2 separate regions of the Homo sapiens genome follow, and region 1 is linked to region 2. Evidence: promoter capture Hi-C in 16 types of primary human blood cells and fetal thymus (Javierre and others, 2016). All regions are on one chromosome and are shown on one strand. Each heading gives the region's core, a stretch centred on a gene start or on the middle of the fragment in contact. The rest is flanking DNA. Distances are from core to core; before and after follow the strand shown. Region 1 has its middle 18 kb from the start of TCF23. Region 2 holds the start of MAPRE3 (microtubule associated protein RP/EB family member 3).

Region 1 (5,614 bases), core at 2,592-5,091, 200 kb before region 2:
GACAGGGTTTCGTTGTGGTCTCCAGGCTGGTCTCCAACTCCTGACCTCAAGTGATCCACCCGCCTCAGCCTCCCAAAGTGCCGGGATTACAGGCGCTAGCCACCGCGCCCAGCCAAGGGTGGTTCTGAGAATGGGGAAAAAGTTGGAAACTTAAACCAAGTGGGGCTGCCGGGTTAAAGAGCTGTTGCCACCTTGATAGGGGGGCGCAAGAAGTAAACTGCAAGAAGCAAATCCCCGCTCCCTCCTCCCGTCTTGCGGGCTTCCTCTAGCACCCTCTATTGGTGGAGCCCAGCGAAGTGCCAGCTGGCAAAGCAGAAAGTGGTTTGCAGAACCTCAGCCCCAGCGCCATAGGAAACAAAAGCAGGGTTCCAGCTTGGGGCTATTACAAATAACGCTGTTATGAGCGCTCTCATGCATATCTTTTTTTTTTTTTTTTTTTTTTGAGACGGAGTCTCACTCTGTCGCCCAGGTTGGAGTGCAGTGGCGCAATCTCAGCTCACTGCAACCTCTGCCTCCCAGGCTCAAGCGATTCTCCTGCCTCAACCTCCTGAGTAGCTGGGACTACAGGCGTGCACCACCACGCCCGGCTTATTTTTTTGTATTTTTAGTAGAGACGGGGTTTCTCCATGTTGGCCAGGCTGATCTAGAACTCCTGACCTCAGGTGATCCGCCCGCCTAGGCCTCCCAAAATGCTGGGATTACAGGCGTGAGCCAAAGCGCCCGGCCTTAGGTGTGTTTATACCCTGGATTTAACAGATACAGATATTAACCATTCTGGTGGGTGTGTTGTAGTATCTCAAGATTTCAATTTGCATTTTTCTAATAACTAATGAAGTTGAGCATGTTCAGCCATTTGGATATCCTCTTTAGAAAGTGCCTGACCAAGGCCAGATGAGGTGGCTCCCGCCTGTAATCCCTGCACTTTGGGAGACTGAGGCAGGAGGATCCCTTGAGCCCAGGAGGTCGAGGTTGCAGTGACCTATGATGGTGCCACTGCACTCCAACCTGAGTGACGCAGAGAGACTCTGTCTCTTTAAAAAAACAAAAACAAAAACAAAAAAACTGTGTTTCTAACCCATTTAGCCATTTACTACTGAATTATCAGTCTCTGTCTTATTGCTCTGTGGGGATTTTTAATACATTCTTGATAGAAGCCCTTTTAAATATGTGAGTTATATGGCAAATAGTATCTTCTCCCAGTCTGTGAACTTGTCTTTTTCACTCTCTCAACGGTATCTTGTGATGAATAGGTGCTCCTAACTTTATGTAGTATAATTTCTCACTCTTTTCCTTTAGAGTTAATGCTTTTTGTGTCTTCTCTAAAAAAATATTTCCCTATTCCAAGGACATGAAGGTCTTCTCTTATAATCTATTCTTCTTTTTATATTTTCCATCTCTTTCTCCCTACGAACTGAAATCTGGTTAATTTCTAAAGATCCGTCTTCTGATTTGCTAGATCTATTTCTTTTTCTTTTTCTTTTCTTTTTTTTTTTTGAGACGGAGTCTCCCTCTGTCGCCCAGGCTGGAGTGCAGTGGCATGATCTTGGCTAACTGCAACTTCCGTTTCCTAGGCTCAAGTGATTCTCCTGCCTGAGCCTCCAGAATAGCTGGGACGACAGGCGTGTGCCACTATGCCCGGCTAATTTTTTTGTATTTTTGGTAGAGATGGGGTTTCACTATATTGCCCAGGCTGGGCTCGAATTCCTGACCTCAACTGACCCGCCCTCCTCAGCCTCCCAAAGTGCTGGGATTATAGGCATGAGCCACTGTGCCCAGGCTGCTAGACCTATTTCTAGCAGTTTCTAATCATCCACTGAGTCTCTAATTAAAATATCATATTTTTAATTTCTAGAAATTCTATTTTTTCCCAATTCTGCCTGGTTATTTTTGACAGCCTCTTATTCCTGCATTGTCTTTTCAGAATTCTCTTTCTTTCCTTAAACCTATTAAACATCTTTACTGTATATTCTATGCCTAAACATTACATGATTTGCAATCCTCTCAAGTGTGATTCTAGAGTTCAATGGTACGGCTATTGCTCATTTAGAGTGACATGCCTCCTTCTGACTTTTAAAATTGTTTGTTGTAAGCTCAAGGTTGTTGGAATTGTATCCATGGGAATCCTTCAAAGCATGGATTTATTTATTACTTATTTTTATTGAGTCAAGGTCTCGCTCTATCACCCAGACTGGAGTGCAGTGGCCTGATCATGGGTCACTGCAGTCTCAACCCCCGGGGCTCAAGCAGTCATCCCACCTCAGCCCCCTGGGTAGCTGGGACTACAGGCATGTGCCACCACACCCAGCTAATTTTTGTATTTCTTGTAGAGGTGGGGTTTCACCATGTTGCCCAGGCTGGTCTTAGACTCCTGGGCTCAAGCCATCGGTCTGTTTCAGCCTCCCAAAGTGCTGGAATTACAGGTGTGAGTGGCCGTGCCTGGCCACTGCATGAATTTAAAACGTGTTCCTCCAGAGAAGGTTTGCACCTGCTTGTGCCAGGAAACACTACTAAATCGTGACCACTTTAAAATTTTGGCCTCCCCCACAACAAAACATCCTTACTGAGGGTGTTGCCTTTTGAGGATCCCAACTTTGTGACAGAGTCTCTGATCCAACTTCCCATTTCGAATGGGCCCTAGGTGTTGTCTCCTGTCCCCAGGTGTGGCCCGTAAGACCCAGGCCTTGGGCACCAGGAATTTGCAGATATTGCAAAGGCAGCACTGACTTGAGTGCTGGCTTACCATTTTTTGCTACATGCTTCCTTATTCTTTCTCTTATTCTTTTCCCTTACTTTTCTGCCAGGCAAGCAATACTTTTAAGAATATGTTTTTACGATTTTAGCCATCATTTTGAGTTTCTGTACCAGGAGAGTTTCTCTGAACATCTAGTCTACCATAGTGTCAGAAATGGGTGGAGGCTTGGGCCTTTGTTACAAGCAGGTTTTTAAAGGCAAAAAAGAGGACAAGGAGTGGGCTGATACAAAGTTGTTTGTCAGGAATTCTCATTGGTTTACAGAAATAACATTGATTAATGATTGGCTGTACAGTGTTGAGCTATAGAGTGTGGGTTATAGAGGACCAGAAGTGGCAGGAAATGGAAGAACAAATCTTAGAGGAGCCAATTTGGGGAGGTTTTAAGCTTTCTAAAAAGCCAATTAAGTTTTACATTTTCATCAGCAAAATCATGCCAACCAGAAAGCAGAGGGATCAAACTTTTTTTTTTGTAAGAGGTGTCAATCAACTAAAAAAAATTCCCAGAAACAGAATCCAAAAGAGAAAAAGCAAAGAGCCCCCAGCCTCACATATAGCCTGGGTATTGGCTTGTAAACAGAAAAACCAAACTCTGTGAAATATATTAAAGAAGTTTATTCTGAGCCCATATGAGTGACCATGGCCAGGGGAATAGTCTCAAGAGGTCCTGAGAAAGTGTGCCTGAGGAGTCAGGTTACACTTTGGTTTTACACATTTTAGAGGGACAGGAGTTACAGGCAAAGATATAAATCAATACATAAAAGGTATACATTGGTTTGGCCTGAAAAGTTGGGACATCTTGAAGTGGGAGCTTGCAAGTCATGGGTGGGTTTTAGAAATTCTTTAGTTGATGGTTGAGAGAGTTAAGCTATTGCTTAAAGACTTGAATTCAGTAGAAAAGAATGCTTGTGTTAAGGTAAGAGGGTCAGGGCAGCATGGTGGCTCACACCTGTAATCCCAGCACTTTTGGAGGTTGACATGGGTGGATCATTTGAGGTCAGGAGTTCAAGACCAGCTTCGCCAACACGGTGAAACCCCCTCTCTACTAAAAATACAAAAATTAGCCGGGCCTGGTGGTGCACGCCTGTAATCCCAGCTACTTGGGAGGCTGAGGCACAACAATCCCTTGAACCTGAAAGGTGGAGTTTGCAGTGAGCCAAGATCATGCCGCTGCACTCTAGCTTGGGCAACACAGTGAGACTCTGTCTAAAAACAACAACAACAAAAATGACAAATAAAAAAGGGAGTCACGGGTGCCAAGGCCCTTATTATGGAGATGAAGCCTCACAGGGACCAGCCCTCAGAAAGAATAGATGGTAAATGTCTCTTTTCAGATTTTTTAAAGTGTCAGCCTCTCAGTTAATCTCTCCTAGATCTTGGAAAGGCCTAGAAAGGAAGACCTGGTTGCAGTGGTGGAGATTCTCTACAGATACAAACTTCCCCCACGAAAGACAGCTTTGCAGGACCATTTCAAAGTATGCCAAACAAATACATTTTGGAGTAAAATATTTTTATTTCCTTCAGGGCCTGTAATCTGCCATGTGGTGCTAAGCCACAGTCAGGTTGGAAAGTAAGCCACAGTATACTGCGTTAATTTTAAAAACCCAGTTAATGAGATTTTATGGTTTGTTGGGTATGATTTAACCCTTGCCTTTCATGGCCTCTAGCAGTTTCTAATCATTCATTGAGTCTTTAATTAAAATATCATATTTTTAATTTCTGAAAATTCTATTTTTCCCCCAATTCTGCCTGGTTATTAGATTTGTTGGAAATAAAGCTCAGGAAATAAAGCTTGCAAAGGAAATGAGCACTCAGATAACTTCTCTGCAAGGCAAAATTTTACTTCTATAGAAGGGTGCTACCTGCATGCAAGGCAGAGGCAAGGGAGCACACTGAACAAAGGAGAGCAGGCATTTTTATCCCTAATGCAGACCCTGTTCCTGGGTCCTCCCCCGGTTGGCTGGAGTCAGACCGCACGATCTAAGCTAATCCCGATTGGCTAGTATTGACATCATCGAAGGAGGCAAGGGTGGGCACTTGATGGGAAGGACGGGCACATAGGTGATGGGACATGCTTGGACGTGTTTGGGTGCAACAGAGATAGGGAGGGCTGATAGATGGACAGGTAACATTACTTTCAGAATAGAACAAAGAACCAGGAACTGAAACTTTTGAAGAGAAACTGTTTGTGCCTAACAGATTGTTGTTCAAAATTTGGTATCTTATTGCCACAGATACTCTCTTTTGCCAGTCTTATAATCCCTGTTTTAACCACAATGCTTGTCAGTTGTGCCTAAACACCAAAAGGGAGGAGGGGTATAACAAGACATGTCGGACCTCACTTCCCACTGTAAACCAAAAATAAAAGTCTAAACCCCCAGTCATCTGAATGGACTCCTCCTGTCCCTAAAGGGCATTCCAAAGTTAACCTGAAACACTAGTTCAGGCCATGATGGGAAGGGGGTTCAGACATGCCTCATGATACCCTCCTCCCTTTTGGATTTACTGATAGAACAGACTCTTTAAGTCTGATAAGAACATTTACAATCTATTCTCTCTGAAGCCTGAGACCTGGAGGCTTCACCTGTATCATAAAACCTTGGTCTCTACAACCCCTTATCTTAACCTGGACATTTCTAAGTCTTTAGACAGTAACTTAACTCTTTCAACCAATTGCCAATCAAAAAATCTTTAAATCTACCTAAGACCTAGAAGCCCTCCACCAGCTTCTAGTTGCCCTGCCTTTCTGGACTGAACCAATGTACATCTTACATGTATTGAGTGATGTCTTTTTTTTTTTTTTTTTTTTTTGAGGCAGAGTCTCGCTCTGTCGCCCAGGCTGGAGTGCAGTGGTGCTATCTCGGC
Region 2 (5,234 bases), core at 1,822-4,321:
GGCGGGCGCCTGTAGTCCCAGCTACTCGGGAGGCTGAGGCAGGAGAATGGCGTGAACCCCGGGAAGCGGAGCTTGCAGTGAGCCGAGATTGCGCCACTGCAGTCCGCAGTCCGGCCTGGGCGACAGAGCGAGACTCCGTCTCAAAAAAAAAAAAAAAAAAACTATATTTTCTGTTCGGCTTCTGACAAATGTTACTCGGCTAAATTCAGGAATAGCTCATAAGACGTTTGCTGCCAGTTAGTTGGCTCAGTTTCTGGAGAGTACCACATTAAGACCCTGGGTTGGATTCTCATATGGGAACTTTCCTCCGTTCAATAGCCTCCTACTATGCCTAACTCCAGCCAGTCATCTTACAAATACAACCCCACAATGTGTGCTGGCGTGCAGGAAGGACTAGAAGAAACTCAGCTTCACAATGCATGCACTCTCAGGACGGTAGGTCAGAAACGGCATCATCACACAGGAATACTATCAATAGCATTCTTTCTCAGTTCCAAGATTCACAAATCCCTCCCTCAAGTCTTGCCATTTCCCGAGGGTTTTAATGTTTCTAAAATGAGGATGCACCTTGGAATCAGCATATATATTTTGATCTGGTAGCATTAGATTATTTTACCTAAAAGCTATTGGTAAATTGCTGGTGTGTCTTAGAATCAAGAATACAGTCCTACAAAACCTCAATACCATTACATAGATTTAGGTCTAACTTGGTTCAAATCATGTCCCTCTCCTTGATCTTAACAATTACATTCAGCAACAGCTGGATAGGCAATGTATAAGACAAGTATTAGTCCTGTTTCCTCATAGTAGCAGTTTAAAAGGCATTCCATCATTATCTCATAAAACACTGGTATGGATTTCAAAGGCAAATTAATCCATATAAAAACTACTCTGATCCTCTGAAAATGTACTATCCCATAGCAAACTGGAAAGGAACATTTTACTTACACCCTCCTGATCTATCTAGCCTTGACACATTTTCTTCCTCCTTAATTCACAACCCTCCACCCCAGTAATATCGCTGATTCCCAAAATACACTCAGCCCAGGAGGAGCAGCTCTCCAGTACAGCTGTCTGCTCCTGCCCTGCTCGGGTATTTTGGTGAGCTATGTGACACAGGACCACACAGAAGGAATGCCACTCTCAGGCCCCACAGTTCCCACTGCACCACAGGCAGGTGCATCCCACCAAACCCCAGTCTGGCATTCGAAACAGAAGAAACTGCCCTGCTGGATGGGGGCTATAGTTTTCCTGAACTTCATCTCTATGTTTAAAACTAGGGCGACAGCCGTCTTGGCTACTGTAAACTAATCTGATGGGCATGGGGGCAGGGAGTGGCTATGAGGAGGCTGCCAATAGGCCATGATTGAGCAAAGTAAAGAGTGAAATAGTTATTTCTCATTGTTTGCAACCCCGGAAACTCCAAATGAGTGGCTCCTTCACCATGATTTTTAGAAATGGACCATGCGTTCCTTTTACCATCTGGAGTAAAAATCCCAAAGCCTCTTGTGCGGTAGATCTGGCTTATATTTACACGTGCTTTCTAAAAGCACACTGAAATTTGGAAGCCAAATAAAAAAGAAGCTGACAATGAGGTCATATAGTAGTTAGGGGCCCTCAAGTTGAGACATGTTTATTAAGAGTTTCTGGCTCTGGGCACTAACTCTGACTTCAACTCAGTTCTTCTGGAAAAAGAAAACTGTTTGGGACCCTCTTCTATTCCAAGAACAGGGACTGCAAGATGGGCAGGTGGAGGGGTAGCAAACATAACCCAGGGAATTGTCCAAATATGCTAGAACCCCTATCTGGTGACAGCCCCACAAAGACACACAGCTGGAGGAGGCACAGTGTACAGGCCTCACACCTACACCATGGAGAAGCTTCGATTTTTCTCCTTCCTCTCAACTCTGCACACGTTATGTTAAAAACTCACTACTATCCAATTAGTTAATTTACAGGAATCCAAGATCAAGTCCTGCCACAGCCCCTTCATATATAAACAGTAAGCACTTCCTATGGATGGTATCAGGCCTTTTTCCAAACCTCACATTATACCAGGGTTGTAGTGCGATTTAAAAAAAAAAAAAAGCATTTTAAAGAGTTCCGCAAGATGCTTATTCACAACACCACACCGGAAGCGCAGGAACTTGGAGCTCCCAAACGCAACCTCTTCTCCCTTCCCTCCACTACTTCTACTCCCCGCTCCGCAACACCGGCCGGGCAGTAGCTCAGCCCACTAGAAGGCCACCAGGCACTAGCCGCGTTCATTAAACGCTAGATGATCACGATGGGGCTGAACCCTTCCCAGCCAAATCTATTCGGAAAGCCCTGCAAGCTCTGAGCAGCCAGTGAGAACTGTCCAGACCTGCTTCCCCAAACCAGCCAGGCAGGAGCGTGTGGGGAAGAAACCCGAGGCCCCCAGGCTGGGCCTGGCCCGATGTTCCCCCTCCCCCAAGTCTCCCCTCGCTCTCCTGTCACTCTTTTTCTGGCACATCACTGGGGAGATCCAGAGAGGCCGGGAGATGTCAGGCCTAGGAGGAGTGAGGAGGAGGGAGAAGGGATAAGGGCGGACGGGAGGTAGTTTGGAGAAAATATCAGCCCAGGGCAGAGGTGCGGTGGCCACGTCTAGTGGGGAAGGAGCCTCAAGGTGGACCCGGAGAGACGGAGGGAAGGGGAGGGGAGGGAAGGGGAGGGGGAGTGGCTGGGGAGGCCGGGCCGCCAAGGCCGGAGGGAACCCGGCGACAGGGATGGAGGGGGTTGACCGGCGCGGGGAAGGCGCGGTCGGGATGCGGGAGTGCGGGTGGGGAGGCAGGGGCGGGGGGAGCCCGGTTCCCCTCCCCCAGCCCGGGCCCTGGCCTCCCGCTGACTCAGCCCCACGGCGTCCGTCGCCTCGGCCCGGACTCACAGTGCACGAGGCGGCTCCGGCGGAGGCGGAGGGGGAGGGGACAGGTGGCGGGGGCGCTGCGGCAGAGGCTGCGGCTCCGGCCGGCGGCTCCGGGGCGGAGGGTCCTCGCTGAGGCCGCCGCGGTCTCCGGCTTCAACGCACAGAGACTGCGGGGGACGAGGGCACTGCGCAGGCGCGATGCGGCCGCCGCTGTCAGTCCGAGCGGGGCGGGGCCAGGGCACCCGCCGTCTCCAAGGCAACTGAGCCGCGGGAGGACAGCCCCTACCTCCACCTTGCCTTAGCGATTGCGGCGGGAGGCGGGGGGCGACAGGAACAGGCCCACTGCGTTGCCGTAGCAACGAGGAGAAGAGACCGCTTCAGACGTGTGCGGCGGTACCGAGGGAACGCGCCTACCTCGTCACCATAGCAACTGGGAACAGCCCCTTCCTTTTTCCCTGGCAACAGGGTAACAATCCCTCCGCCCTGTCTCATCACAGGAGGAACAACCGTGTGCACCTGATTTCAGTAGCTGGATGACGGATTTTCATCTTTTATGGCTACGGAAAAGGAAAAAGAGACGTTTTCTTCTCTTTCAGCGACATGGAAGAGCTAAGGCTGGGTTTTATCTCCTCTCTTGGTGTGTGGGTTCCAATCACAGTCTTTTTCTCTAATTCCCAAATTCATTTTTTTTTCTTTTTTTTTGGGACGGAGTTTCACTCTTGTCGCCCAGGCTAGAGTGCACTGGCGCGATCTTGGCTCACTGCAACCTCTGCCTCCTGGGTTCAAGCAATTCTCCTGCCTCAGCCTCCCGAGTAGCTGGGATTACAGGCGTGCGCCACAATGCCTGGCAAAGTTTTTGTATTATTAGTAGAGACAGGGGTTTCATCATGTCGGCCAGGCTGGTCTCGAACTCCTAACCTCAGGTGATCCACCTGCCTCGGCTTCCCAAAGTGGTGGGATTACAGGCGTGAGACACCGCGCCCGGCCCAATTTTTTTCTACCTGTTTTAAACATCCCCTTTCATCTCCTACCAGAGAGTGTGCCCTTTACCCTTAAATCGAGCTAACGAAATCGTCTATCCACAGACCACTTGAGTTTTTGTCAGCCTTATTGTCTCTCTCCCATTGCAAGGATAAACACCTCATTTCTTCATCTTGCTCACTATCTGGTTTGCAGTCCACTTCCTCATAACTAGCTCCCTCTGACATGTCCATTCGTTTTCCCGAATTTCCTCCTCCAAGCATGCTGTTATGGATCTCCTCGGTTCTTCTGGATCTCCCTTTCCTCTCCACACTTGCTGTCCTTGTCCAGCACTGCTCTGCCCGGGGCTCCAGTATGTTCTTTCCCCCTGTGACTTCAGCATCTTGGTTCTCTTTGTGCTGATGTCTTCTGGCTCTTCCTCCCTCAGCCCTGATTCCCATGGATGCCTTGAGGTCACCTTTGTACCAACCCTGTACATTCCTCCTTTCTTACACACACCTTACACTATCGTCATTTGTTTACGTGTCTGTGTCTCCAGACTATGTGACCCTGGTGGGCAGGAATTCTGTCTTTTTCATCAGCTCCCTCAGCATCCACCACAGCATGTGACACATAGCAGATTCTGAGAAATGCTTATGTAATTGAATCAAATGAAGACAAATCTTTTCCTTCTTCTTTTCTCTGGCCTAACTGCCTCAGAGTCCCAGTCCCCATTTCTAATACCTTTACACATAGTTTGTCTTTTAGTACTATGCTACTATTATAAGTCTTTCATCTCCTTAGCTTTCCATCCTGTTAATTGAGACTCTGGCATTCTCTATTTCCTGAATCCTCGCCTCTAGCTCTTCTCTCTTCTACACTATCCCAAATGTTTCTACTAAGGTAAATTTCCTCACTGGGTACCAACCCCGTGACTCCCATACCCTCCATAATCAGCGTAAGCTCTTCACACCTAACCATCCTGATCATCCCCTAACCAGCTCTAATCAAGCCTTCTTGGTGAACGTTACTGGATTCTGCTGGGCTTGTTGACATGCCAGAGATGCAGCATTCTCTTCAAACAACTCAAAAGCAAGAGCTCACAACCTAGCATTCTCTTCCAAATCTCCCTGTCTAGCTCCCACAGATTCCGCCGCAGGACTATTGGTGCCAAAGCACCCCAACTAAGCCCATTTTCTTGGGGAAAAAAGAAGAAAGTTACAAATAGAGTAAGTAAGAAAAGAGAGGGGACACAGCATATCCTCTCTTCTTCCACCTAAAGCAATTATCAGAAAGGAGAGAGCTCTTTGTAGACAATAATTCCCAAAACAAATCAAGGGGTTAGGAGAGTAAAAACCCAGGCTACACTTTTTTCTAGCCACAGAGTTGG

What was found. Contacts are between HindIII fragments. The CHiCAGO score rates a contact against its expected background, and 5 or more counts as called.
Region 1: a contact is called between a fragment that was not itself captured here and the fragment with the promoter of MAPRE3 in region 2, in 2 of 17 cell types (naive B cells and total B cells). The highest score is 6.1, in naive B cells.

Annotation. Positions count from the first base shown.
Region 1 is chr2:27,164,691-27,170,304 of GRCh38, reverse strand. No RefSeq gene overlaps it. Among named protein-coding and RNA genes, the nearest start is that of TCF23, 18 kb to the right of the region's middle. RefSeq lists a silencer at 240-289 and an enhancer at 4,604-4,913. The HindIII fragment of the contact is 1,403 bases long and covers 3,140-4,542 here.
Region 2 is chr2:26,968,474-26,973,707 of GRCh38, reverse strand. MAPRE3 (microtubule associated protein RP/EB family member 3) reads right to left here and starts at 3,071. Exons shown (of 7, transcript NM_012326.4): 1 at 2,906-3,071. RefSeq lists a silencer at 2,857-3,186. The HindIII fragment of the contact is 16,247 bases long and covers 1,883-5,234 here.